2 separate regions of the Homo sapiens genome follow, and region 1 is linked to region 2. The links are contacts of gene promoters, found by promoter capture Hi-C in human tissues and cell types (Jung and others, 2019). All regions are on one chromosome and are shown on one strand. Each heading gives the region's core, a stretch centred on a gene start or on the middle of the fragment in contact. The rest is flanking DNA. Distances are from core to core; before and after follow the strand shown. Region 1 overlaps KCTD19 (potassium channel tetramerization domain containing 19). Region 2 holds the start of CES4A (carboxylesterase 4A).

Evidence for each region. Contacts are between HindIII fragments. The study calls those that stand out against the background at their distance.
Region 1: a contact is called between a fragment that was not itself captured here and the fragment with the promoter of CES4A in region 2, in 1 of the 25 tissues and cell types used here (spleen).

The regions. Positions count from the first base shown.
Region 1 is chr16:67,290,663-67,296,375 of GRCh38, reverse strand. It overlaps KCTD19 (potassium channel tetramerization domain containing 19), which reads left to right. Exons shown (of 16, transcript NM_001100915.3): 8 at 117-217; 9 at 971-1,113; 10 at 1,320-1,403; 11 at 1,682-1,796; 12 at 2,205-2,832; 13 at 4,539-4,730; 14 at 4,913-5,067; 15 at 5,390-5,491. Among named protein-coding and RNA genes, the nearest start is that of PLEKHG4, 14 kb to the right of the region's middle. The HindIII fragment of the contact is 3,446 bases long and covers 304-3,749 here.
Region 2 is chr16:66,987,087-66,992,525 of GRCh38, reverse strand. It overlaps CES4A (carboxylesterase 4A), which reads right to left and starts at 3,937. Exons shown (of 14, transcript NM_001364782.1): 1 at 3,696-3,937. The coding sequence starts at 3,753. RefSeq lists a silencer at 606-900. The HindIII fragment of the contact is 42,626 bases long and covers 1-5,439 here.

The DNA.
Region 1 (5,713 bases), core at 777-3,276, 310 kb before region 2:
ATATGACTGAGGAAAGATATTGAGACTTAACGTGAAATACACTACTAACCAAAGGGCCCTACCTGCTTTCCCTTCTGGCCATATGATGATGTGTTCTATCTCCTGGATTCCCATAGATGAGTGGACGGCAGAGATCACTGTGTATTCCCCACAACAGATCATCAAAGTGTATGTTGGAAGCCACTGGTACGCAACCACCCTGCAGACACTGCTGAAGGTACTGACGGCCTCGGCTGCCCTGCTCCCCATCTGGCATCACCACCTGAGCTGCTCTGGGGGCCATCACCTGGCCCTCACACAGCTTCCAGCACTTGCTTAGAACAAAGGCTTTCCCGCCAGGCACGGTGGCTCATGCCTGTAATCCCAGCACTTTGGGAGGCTGAGGTGGGCAGATCACGAGATCAGGAGTTCAAGACCAGCCTGACCAACATGGTGAAACCCCGTCTGTACTAAAAATACAAAAATTAGCTGGGTGTGATGGCACGTGCCTGTAATCCCAGATACTTGGGAGGCTGAAGCACCAGAATTGTTTGAACCCAGGAGATAGAAGTTGCAGTGAGCTGAGATCGCGCCACTGCACTCCAACCTGGGTGACGGAGTGTGACTCTGCCTCAAAAAACAAAACAAAACAGAGCACAAGTGGACCGAGTGGCCTGCTGGGAAGGCCCTCCAGAGTTTGCATAGGGAGGGGGCCAGCTCTGAGGGACCTGGACTGAGAAGGAGGTACGGTGGGCTTCCAAATGCCTTGAGAGGGTGGTCTAGGGGCCATCAAAAGTTGAAGCAGGGATGATGTGCTTCTCCCTGGAAGCTCTGCTCCCCACCATGGTTCCTTGTGACTGACAAGACAGGGAAATGGAATCTCAAAGCCTCTGCTCTAGTGTAGTTGGAAAAGGGGAGTGAGAGAAGATTGACCTGCCCCTTCGCAAAGACCTAGCCTCTGAGACTGAGTCCGGTGTCCAACCCCCTCCAGTATCCAGAACTGCTGTCCAACCCTCAGAGAGTGTACTGGATCACATATGGACAAACCCTGCTCATCCACGGGGATGGCCAGATGTTCCGACACATTCTCAACTTCCTGAGACTTGGCAAACTGTTTTTACCATCTGAATTTAAGTAAGTGAAGCAAGGACGCAGTAAGATGAAATCACGAAGGCTGACCCCTCCCTTAGCAACAAAGGAGACCTGAGTTGCAGCCTTCAGGGAGGAGGTTATTTTATTTCCATCGTGGGAACTGTTGGCAGCGGCAGTTCCAGGAGCTCATGCTCCCTCCCACACCCTCATCCTAGCTGCCCAGCTGGATATCTCCTTGTTGTTTGCAGGGAATGGCCCCTCTTCTGCCAGGAGGTGGAGGAATACCACATTCCATCCCTCTCAGAAGCCCTTGCACAATGTGAAGCATACAAGTAAGAAAACTTTATCACGACTCTATGTTTAGAATTTGGTCCTTTAAATTCCTCTTGAAATCCTGTCCTAAGTCCTACTCCTAGAGGATCCTGATCTCCTTGGGGTTGAGGGAGTGAAGCAGGCCCAGGATTGGCCAGTGACCTAGGCAAAACCCTTTAAGAGCCCCTTCTTCCCTGCTGTCTAGCATTAACTCCCAGCCAAAGAGCAGATCTGACCAACTGGCCAATGGCCTGATGGAAGTCTCTACTCACTAACCAACCCCTCTTGGTTTCTGCAGGTCATGGACTCAGGAGAAAGAATCTGAAAATGAAGAAGCTTTTTCCATCAGGAGGCTGCATGTGGTGACAGAAGGGCCAGGGTCACTGGTGGAGTTCAGTAGAGACACTAAAGAAGTAAGCACCAGCCTCCTCTGGTTGGTGTTATCCTCAAAAACCACTACCACCGGGCTCAGGGTGGATGGGGGTAGGTTCAGCTACTGGTGGGTGCAGCAAAATGAAAGAGCAGAGCCTACATGGGTTCCTAGGACAGGACCTGGCTTCTGAACCGTGAAGGAGGCACAGGAACTTACTGGCCACTTGTGGCCTGCGATGCTGATTGTATCTCCTGTTGGAATGACAGGCCACTGGGCTGGCACCATCCCCACTCAGCCTGAGCAAAGCTCAAATGGGTGACCCCTGTCAGGGATGGGATTGTTCAGGGAGAGCAAGTGAAGTCTTGGAGGCCCAGCTTATTAGATCTTGGGCAAGGCGTTGATGTCCATGCCCAACCTATCCAGAGTTACTGTGCCCTTCCCTCCCCAGACCACAGCCTACATGCCTGTGGACTTCGAAGACTGCAGTGACAGGACTCCATGGAACAAGGCTAAGGGAAACCTGGTCAGGTCCAACCAGATGGATGAGGCTGAGCAGTACACTCGGCCCATCCAGGTGTCCCTATGCCGAAATGCCAAGAGGGCTGGCAACCCTAGCACATACTCACACTGCCGTGGCTTGTGTACCAATCCTGGACACTGGGGGAGCCACCCTGAGAGCCCCCCAAAGAAGAAATGCACCACAATCAACCTCACACAGAAATCTGAAACCAAAGACCCTCCCGCCACTCCCATGCAAAAACTCATCTCCCTGGTGAGAGAATGGGACATGGTCAATTGCAAACAGTGGGAATTCCAGCCACTGACAGCCACACGGAGCAGCCCCTTGGAGGAGGCCACCCTGCAGCTCCCCTTGGGAAGCGAGGCTGCTTCCCAGCCCAGCACCTCAGCTGCCTGGAAAGCCCATTCCACAGCCTCAGAGAAGGATCCAGGACCACAGGCAGGGGCTGGAGCTGGAGCGAAAGACAAGGGGCCAGAGCCAACCTTCAAGCCATACTTACCCCCAAAAAGAGCTGGCACCCTGAAGGACTGGAGCAAGCAGAGGACCAAGGAGAGAGGTGAGTCCTGTCCCCCTTTGATCTAAGTCTTATTCACAACAGAGAAGGCAAACTCTTTGGCCAAGATGGCAGAGCAAGTTAGTGACAAAGGAGGACTAGACCCCCCCGCTCACCAATGCCATCTCTGTGCCAGGCAGCAGACACAGAAATGACTGGCACATTGGCATGGCTGGAGGGGCCAGGAGAACACACACGGCGAAGGGATGAGTGCTGTGGGAAGGAGGTGCCTATGAAGCAGGAGCACAAAAGAGGCTGAGGGCTGGGGAGTCAGCAGGGGAAGGAAGGAGAAGTCCAGGATGTTTGGAAGCGCAGGGCATGGGTCTAGCTGGAGGCCAGGCTTCACATGCAGACGTGATAAAAGATGAGGCTGAAGACAGAAGTCATAAGGACAGGCCTCGTGGGCCAGCTTCAGGACGTGGTACTCCATTCTGACCAGGATGGGAGTGAGCAGCGTCTGAAGGATTTTAGACAAGAGCACGGGGTCAGGTGTGCCCATCAGAAAGTTTGCTCCAGGAGCAGAGGAAATGCAGCAGGAGCTAGGTATTCGAAGCCACTTGGAGTTCTTTCTAGGCTAGGGGAAGCAGGCTAGGCAGGTAGTGGAGGGAAGGAGGGATGGGCCAAGGAGAAGCCAGGTTTCTAGCCTGTGGGACTGCAAGGGGGTGGATAGGCCCTTACTGAGGTGTGGGTAAGAGAAAGAGCAGAGCTTGGGGAAGGGCACATACTGAGTGTGAAATGCCGAGGGACATCCAGGTGGAGAAGCCCAGGAGACAGCAGGGGCTACAGGGACTGAACTGGAGAGAGAGCTTGTGTAGCCAGCTAAGGGAAGGTGGCCAGGGAACTGTGCTGAAAATCGCTGTGCCAGGATGCTGCCTCTGCTCCCTCAAAGCCCTGCCTGCAGTATTGTCACCTTCCCTATTAGTGGCTCCAGCCCTGCTTGGAGGGGCCTTCTTGGACTCTTGCCTGTGAGCCCTAAGTTGGTCTGTCAAGGTTGGGATGACAAATGTCCACTCTTTGGACATGCATCAAAGGCTGGCCCCAAAAGTTCTCAACTTAAAATTTTATAAAGATTTCCAGCCCTCAGCCCCATTTGATACGTCTTAGTTCAACAGAGGAATCTGGAGTTTCTTCGAGTTCCAAAATGTTCAGGATTTGGCTTGCAGTGATGCCAGGGCAATGAAGAGAGGAGTGGCCAGGACAGGCCCCTGCCAGCCCAGGGTGTCACTTCTGAGAAACTAGAGGTGGCAGCTGTTGCAAGGCTGGGGTGACTTGATTGTACTGGCCTGTCACCAGAGGTCCCCTTCCTGCTTGGGCTCTGAGGTGGCTTAAGGAGAGTCCCTGCTTATGAAGATTTGATGGTAATTGAAGAAAAGAATTTTAAAAGCCTGTGCGTGTGGCTCACGCCTGTAATCCCAGCACTTTGGGAGGCTGAGGCGGGTGGATCACCTAAGGTCAGGAGTTCGAGACCAGCCTGGTGAAACCCCATCTCTACCAAAAATACAAAAATTAGCCGGGCGTGGTGGCAGGTGCCTGTAATCCCAGCTACTCAGGAGGCTGAGGCAGGAGAATCGCTGGAACCTGGGAGGCAGAGGTTGCAGTGAGCCAAGATTGTGCCATTGCACTCCAGCCTGGGCAACAAAAGCAAAACTCTATCTTGAAAAAAAATTTTTTTTTAAAAGGAGAGCCCCCTCCCTATGTTGTTTTCACAGAAAGCCCTGCCCCTGAGCAGCCTCTGCCCGAGGCCAGTGAGGTGGACAGCCTAGGGGTTATCCTCAAAGTGACTCACCCCCCCGTGGTGGGCAGCGATGGCTTCTGCATGTTCTTTGAGGACAGCATCATCTATACCACGGAGATGGACAACCTCAGGCACACAACACCCACAGCCAGTCCCCAGCCCCAAGGTGAGGCTCTGGAGCCAGGCCGAGCCCTGCGCCTCCTCGTGAGGATGCCTGAGCCCCCTCCCAGGGTACTTCAGGCAGAGACAGTGGCCCCTGGGGGCCCTACCCCTCTCCCCCTCCTCACACTGTCTCTAAGGCCCTAGCTATTGACAGATGTGGCCACATCCACTTTCCCTCCTCCACAGAAGTGACTTTCCTGAGTTTCTCTCTGTCCTGGGAAGAGATGTTTTATGCACAGAAATGTCACTGCTTCCTGGCTGACATCATCATGGATTCCATCAGGCAAAAGGACCCCAAAGCCATCACAGCCAAGGTGGTCTCCCTGGCCAATCGGCTGTGGGTATGTGTGACAGGCCTCAGGCCCTGGGGCACCCTGTACCTTCTCCACCTCTTCCCCTGCCCCACAATAAGTGGTGCAAGGCAAGAGGAAGTAAGCCAAGATGGGGTTAAGGAGAAGGCCAGGGCCAGAAGAGTGGTGGGACAGGGAGGCAAGCAGAGCAGTTGCACCTGGACTGAGCCTCGGCCAAGAGGCAGATTTGCAGTGACAGTGCCCGCCCCCTACCCCTGTGGCTCTGTGGGCCCAGAGAAGTCCCCGCTCTGCATCTCACTCTGAGGGGCTAGGAGCTGCCCTAGCACTGCCTGACTGTGGGCTCTCCTGGCAGACCCTGCACATCAGCCCCAAGCAGTTTGTGGTAGATTTGCTGGCCATCACCGGCTTCAAGGATGACCGGCACACCCAGGAGCGCCTGTACAGCTGGGTGGAGGTGAGGGCCACTTGCAATCCCTGGGAATCCACCGACCCTGTGGATGCCTCAGATGGACGTGTGTCTTGCTGCACCAGGGCTGGGCCAGCACTGCCCAGAAGGCTAGACAGGCAGCTTAGGCCACTGCTCCCAGGGAGGGAGAAACTGCATGAAATTAACCAATCCAGAGTAGTCCAAAAGCAGTATTCAGGCCACTGGTTTTTACAGTTTTCCTCCAATGAT
Region 2 (5,439 bases), core at 2,688-5,187:
TATTCCTTGGCCCCACCCCACACTCTCTGATGAGAATCTCAGGGTTGCAAACCTCCCCAGATTTTGATGCAAATGGTTTTTGGAATAGGATTTGGAATTGATGCAATAGAGCACACCTTCACACTCCCAGCTGCAGGTGGCCAAAAATGCCTCTCTGCCCATGCCCCCAGGTCTCTACAGGTCTCACATAAGCAATATCTGGGCAAAAAGAAGTGACTGCAATGGAGACCCTTCAAACATGGAGGCAGGCCAGCAGCGGCAAGGGCCAGCTCAAATCTCCCGTTTGTGCAGCCTTTGCAGTTTACAAAGCTCTTTCACATGGGCTTCTCCACTGGACTTGGGAGGAGCTGGGGGAGGCCCAAAGACCCAGAGGGGGGCCGTGACCAGCCTGCAGTCTCACAGGACACAGCCAGGAGGCCAAGGTCTAACCCATTACCTGGATTTGCCCTGAATCCAGGGTCCACTCATGGTGGAATAGCCAATAGCTATAATTTACTGGGCCTTCATTATAGCCTGGGTGCTCTGCCAAACACTTTAAATTATCTCACCTCATTTTTTTCTTTTTTTCTTTTTCTTTTTTGTAGAGACAGGGTCTCACTTTGTTACCCAGGCTGGTCTTGAACTCTTGGCCTCAAGTGATCCTCCCACTCTGGCCTCCCAAAGTTCTGGGAGTACAGGCATGCATGAGCCACCACGCCCAGCCTCACCTCATTTTTCTGAAAACCTTATAGGGCAAATGTTATTGTTACAAAACTATACAAATGTGGAAGCTGAAGCTCAAAGGGGTTATATAAGTTGGCCAAGGTCACACAGAAAAGTATCTTACATCAGAGCAGTGCCTTAAACCATGTTTTTCTGTCGGCTCCCTAGCCTCCAAGGGGCACCTAGCCATGTAGCAGAGTGCTCTAGACCCCTGAGCATGAGCTGCCATGGAGTGGTCCCCATCCCAGCTCTGCTACCCAGAGGCAGCATGTAAGCACCTATGAAAACAATATTCCACCTTACTGGTGGTCATAAAGTGCTAACTAAAACCAGGAGTTACAACTTAGACCTAATAAATTTAAAAGTGATGGCATCTAATTCTGGTGAAGATACAGTGAAAAGGACATTCACATATACTGTTGGTGGAGGATAAACTGATACAATGCCTTGGGAAAATAATTTGGCGAAATGTATACAAAGCCATGAAAAGTTCACTTGCCAGCTGGTGTGGTGGCTCACGCCTGTAATCCCAGCACTTTGGGAGGTCAAGGCAGGTGGATCACTGGAGGTCAGGAGTTCGAGACCAGCCTGGCCAACATGGTGAAACCCTGTCTCTACTAAAAATACAAAAATTAGCTGGGCGTGGTGGTGCGTGCCTGTAATCCCAGCTACTCGGGAGGCTGAGATAGGAGAATTGCTTGAACCCAGGAGGTGGAGGTTGCAGTGAGCCAAGATCGCATCACTGTGCTCCAGCCTGGGAGACAGAGTGAGACTCCATCTCAAAAACAAAACAACAACCAAAAAAGAAAAGAAAAGAAAAGAAAAGAAAAGTTCACATGCCTTCACTCAGTAATTCCACTTCTGGGTCTCTCCCCTGTGAAAATAGTCAGAAACACATGAAAACAAAGACCTTTCTGAACTAAATTTATCTATACCATAGTGAATACTGGAAGCATCATTTATATCTGGGGACCAAGCAAGGCCAATGTAACTACAGACTCAAACTTTAAACTGCTTTTGGTAATAACTTAAATTAAAAAAAAAAAGAAAAACCCCAGAATATAAAATTGTGTTTATTCATTCATTCTTTCTTTTCTTTTCTTTCCCTTATTTTTTTCTTTTTTTGAGACAAGGTCTCCCTCTGTTGCCCAGGCTGGAAGGCAGTGGCATGATCATAGCTCACTACAGCCTCCACCTCCCAAACTCAAGTGAGCCTCTCACTTCAGCCTCTCGAGCAGTTGGGACTGCAGGCATGCACCACACCATGCTTGGCTAATTTTTAAATTTTTTGTTCAGATGGGCTCTAGTTATGTTGCCCAGGCTGGTCTTGAACTCCTGAGCTTAAGCAATCCTCCCACATCAGACTCCCAAAATGCTGGGATTATAGACATGAGCCACCCCATTTGGCTTAAAATTGTGTACATTCTAATAGTACAGCTATAGATAAATACACAATGAAAAGGTGAAAAGAGGTTGGGCATGGTGGCTCATGCCTGCGGTCCCAGCACTTTGGGAGGCCGAGGCAGGTGGATCATCTCAGGTCAGAATTTCGAGACCTGCCTGGCCAGCATGGCGAAACCCCATCTCCACTAAAAAAATACAAAAATTAGCTGGGCTTGTGGTGTACGCCTGTAGTCCCAGCTACTTGGGAGGCTGAGGTGGGGAGAATTGCTTGAACCCGGGAGGTGGAGGTTGCGGTGAGCGGAGATGGCACCATTGCACACCAGTCTGGGTGACAGGGCGAGACTCCGTCTCAAAAAAAAAAAAAAAAAAAAAGAAAAGATGAAAAGAAAATGCGCCAAAATGTTAAAAGCGGAGTAAGCAAAGTTTCCTTCAAATTTAAAATAATGGATATATGTATATATGGGCAAAATTTATTTATGATAGAGGTCAGACTAGTGGTAACTTTGAGTATTGACTGAGAAGGAGTACATGGGACGCTGGAGATGGTTTTTTGTTTTTTTTTTTGAGATAGAGTTTCGCTCTTGTTGCCCAGGCTGGAGTGCAATGGCACGATCTCGGCTCACTACAACCTCTGCCTCCTGGCTTCAAGCGATTCTCCTGCCTCAGCCTCCTGAGTAGCTGGGATTACAGGCATGTGCCACCATGCCTGGCTAGTTTTGTATTTTTAGTAGAGACGGGGTAATAATATTGGTTAGGCTGGTCTCAAACTCCTGACCTCAGGTGATCTGCCCGCTTCGGCCTCCCAAAGTGCTGGGATTACAGGTGTATCCTTGTAAGTTAAAAAAACTTTTTAAAAAATGTTTTTTAAAAATAGAGACAGAGTCTATTTACCCAGGCTAGGTCTCACTATTTGCCCAGGCTGGTCTCAAACTCCTGGGCTCAAGTAATCCTCCCACCTCAGCCTCTCAAAGTGCTGGAATTACAGGCATGAGCTACCATGCCTAACCCACTGGAAATGTTCTAGATGTTGATCTGGATAATGGTTACCATATATATATATATAATAATTAGTATAATAGATATAATTATACAGTGAAGATGTGTGCACCTTGCTGTATACATCTTATACCTCAGTAAACTTTTGTTAATGTATTAGATTGTTTTCACAGTAAAAAGTGTAGTACTCATTTTAAAAAGAAAGATATTGGGGAGAAATTTGAAGGTGGTAAAGAGGTTCATGTAGCAGAGAGGGGGCAGAGACAGGCCTCCTGCTTAGGAGAAGGAAAGAAGGATGGAAGGAAGGAAAAAGGTGGGAAGGAAGAAAAGATGTGGCCATGTTCTCAGACCCCTTCACCTGTGCCGGGAGGCAGGAAATACAGAGAAGCCCTGAGGTTCAGGGAGGCTAAAGGACTTGTCCAGACTCCCAGCTGGTAGATGGTTTAGTGTCCTGAAACCCTACCCTCCATTTGCCCAGGCCTTGTCTAAGTGCTCCTGCCCTGCTGTCCCCAGGAGAGGTTGAACTGGGGCCTGTCCCTCCATCCCTTGTGCCCGTCTTGCCTGACACTCTCGGGAAGGGGTGGGGGTCTTACCCAAGGCCGTCTGCGCCATCAGGCAGAGGGTGAGGCTCCAGCACAGAATCCACCTCATGCTCCAGCCAGCTCCTGCTGTGGGCAGGAGTGATGGCAACACTGTGGATGGCAACACTGTGGATGGCATGGTAGCCGTGTCTACAGTGTGTGAGCACACTTTTATCTGCTCTTAATCCCTGCCAGCAAGTACTGGGGCGGGAGGAATTGTAACCAGCTTCTGACCAGCCCACAGCCTTGTCTCTGCCTTGGGCAACAGGTCACGCTAGATGATCTTGGCTCTTCAAACTGATCAGCCTGCAATCTCCGCCCCGTTTGCTCATCTGTGCAGTGGCTTAAAGCTGAACATGTGTGAGTCAAGGTCTAAGCATACAGTGGGTGCCAAGATTGAAGTAGAACACCTGGTTACTTGGCCCTTCAGCCAGGGCTTCCTGTCTGTGGATTTAAGGGTCTTGGGCCTCCCTGCTCCCCAGTGCCTCGTCTAGCCTCTTCCCTGCCTTTCCTCGCACATGCTGACCCTTGGCTGTCCTCACAGTTTCATAGTCCACATGCGGAAGCTGGACCTGAAAGCAACCGTAATGTGGGAGCCCAGAGGGGCACCCGAGGAGTGAGCCCAGAGCCGGGTGGTGGGAATGAAGATTCCCTGGAAAAGATCTAATCTTCTAAGTAAAGGATGAGGAGGAGTGGGCCAGGCAAAGAAAGATCCTGTTTGAAGTTTGGAGCCACAGGAGCAAGTGTGGGAGGTGGAAGCAAGGAGACAGCAGTCCCATCTTCAGTCAAAGGTAAGATGGGGCTGGGTGTGGTGGCTCATGCCTGTAATACCAGCACTTTGGAAGGCTGAGGCAGGTGGATCACCTGAGGTCAGGAGTTCGAGACCAGCCTGGCCAACATGGTGAAACCCCGTCTCTACTAAAACAAAGAATACAAAAATTAGCTGGGCGTGGTAGTGTGTGCCTGTAGTCCCAGCTACTCAGGAGGCTGAGGCAGGAGGATGGCTTGAACCTGGGAGGCGGAGGTTGTAGTGAGCCGAGATCGGGCCACTGCACTCCAGCCTGGGTGACAGAGTGAGACCCTGTCTCAAAAATAAATAGGCCAGGCACGGTGGCTCATGCCTGTAATCCCAACACTTTGGGAGGCTGAGGCAGGCGGGTCACGAGGTCAGAAGATCGAGACCATCCTGGCTAACACCCCGTCCCTACTAAAAATACAAAAAATTATCCGGGCGTGGTGGCACGCGCCCGTAGTTCCAGCTACTCAGGAGGCTGAGGCAAGAGAATTGCTTGAAACCAGGAGGCGGAGCTTGCAGTGAGCCAAGATGGCGTCACTGTACTCCAGCCTGGGCGACAGAGTGAGACTCCATCTCAAAGAACAAAAAAAAGGTAAGATGTTTCCTCTCTCGTGTACCCCCAAAGTCTGGGGTCCTGGCCCATCTTTGTGAAAAGAGGGTCTGTTGGGCTTCTGTGCTGGGGAGGGGAAAAGGCAGGGGAACAGAGAACTTCTCCCTTGGCCCACAGCCTCTTGCTCTATAGGCCTGACAGATGGTTAAACCTCCTTCTTTCACAGTCAATTTTCTGAGTTCTTCGGAGATGCTCTTTATTTGGGACTCCTCTCCCACAGTTCCCATCCTTGTGACCCTTCCTCAGTCCCAAGGAATGTGGCATTCACTGCCCAATCATTGCTGCCTGGGCTCTGTGCTCCTCTAATGAAGGCCCAAGATGACCCCCCACCCCTGCCTCTGCCACTTATC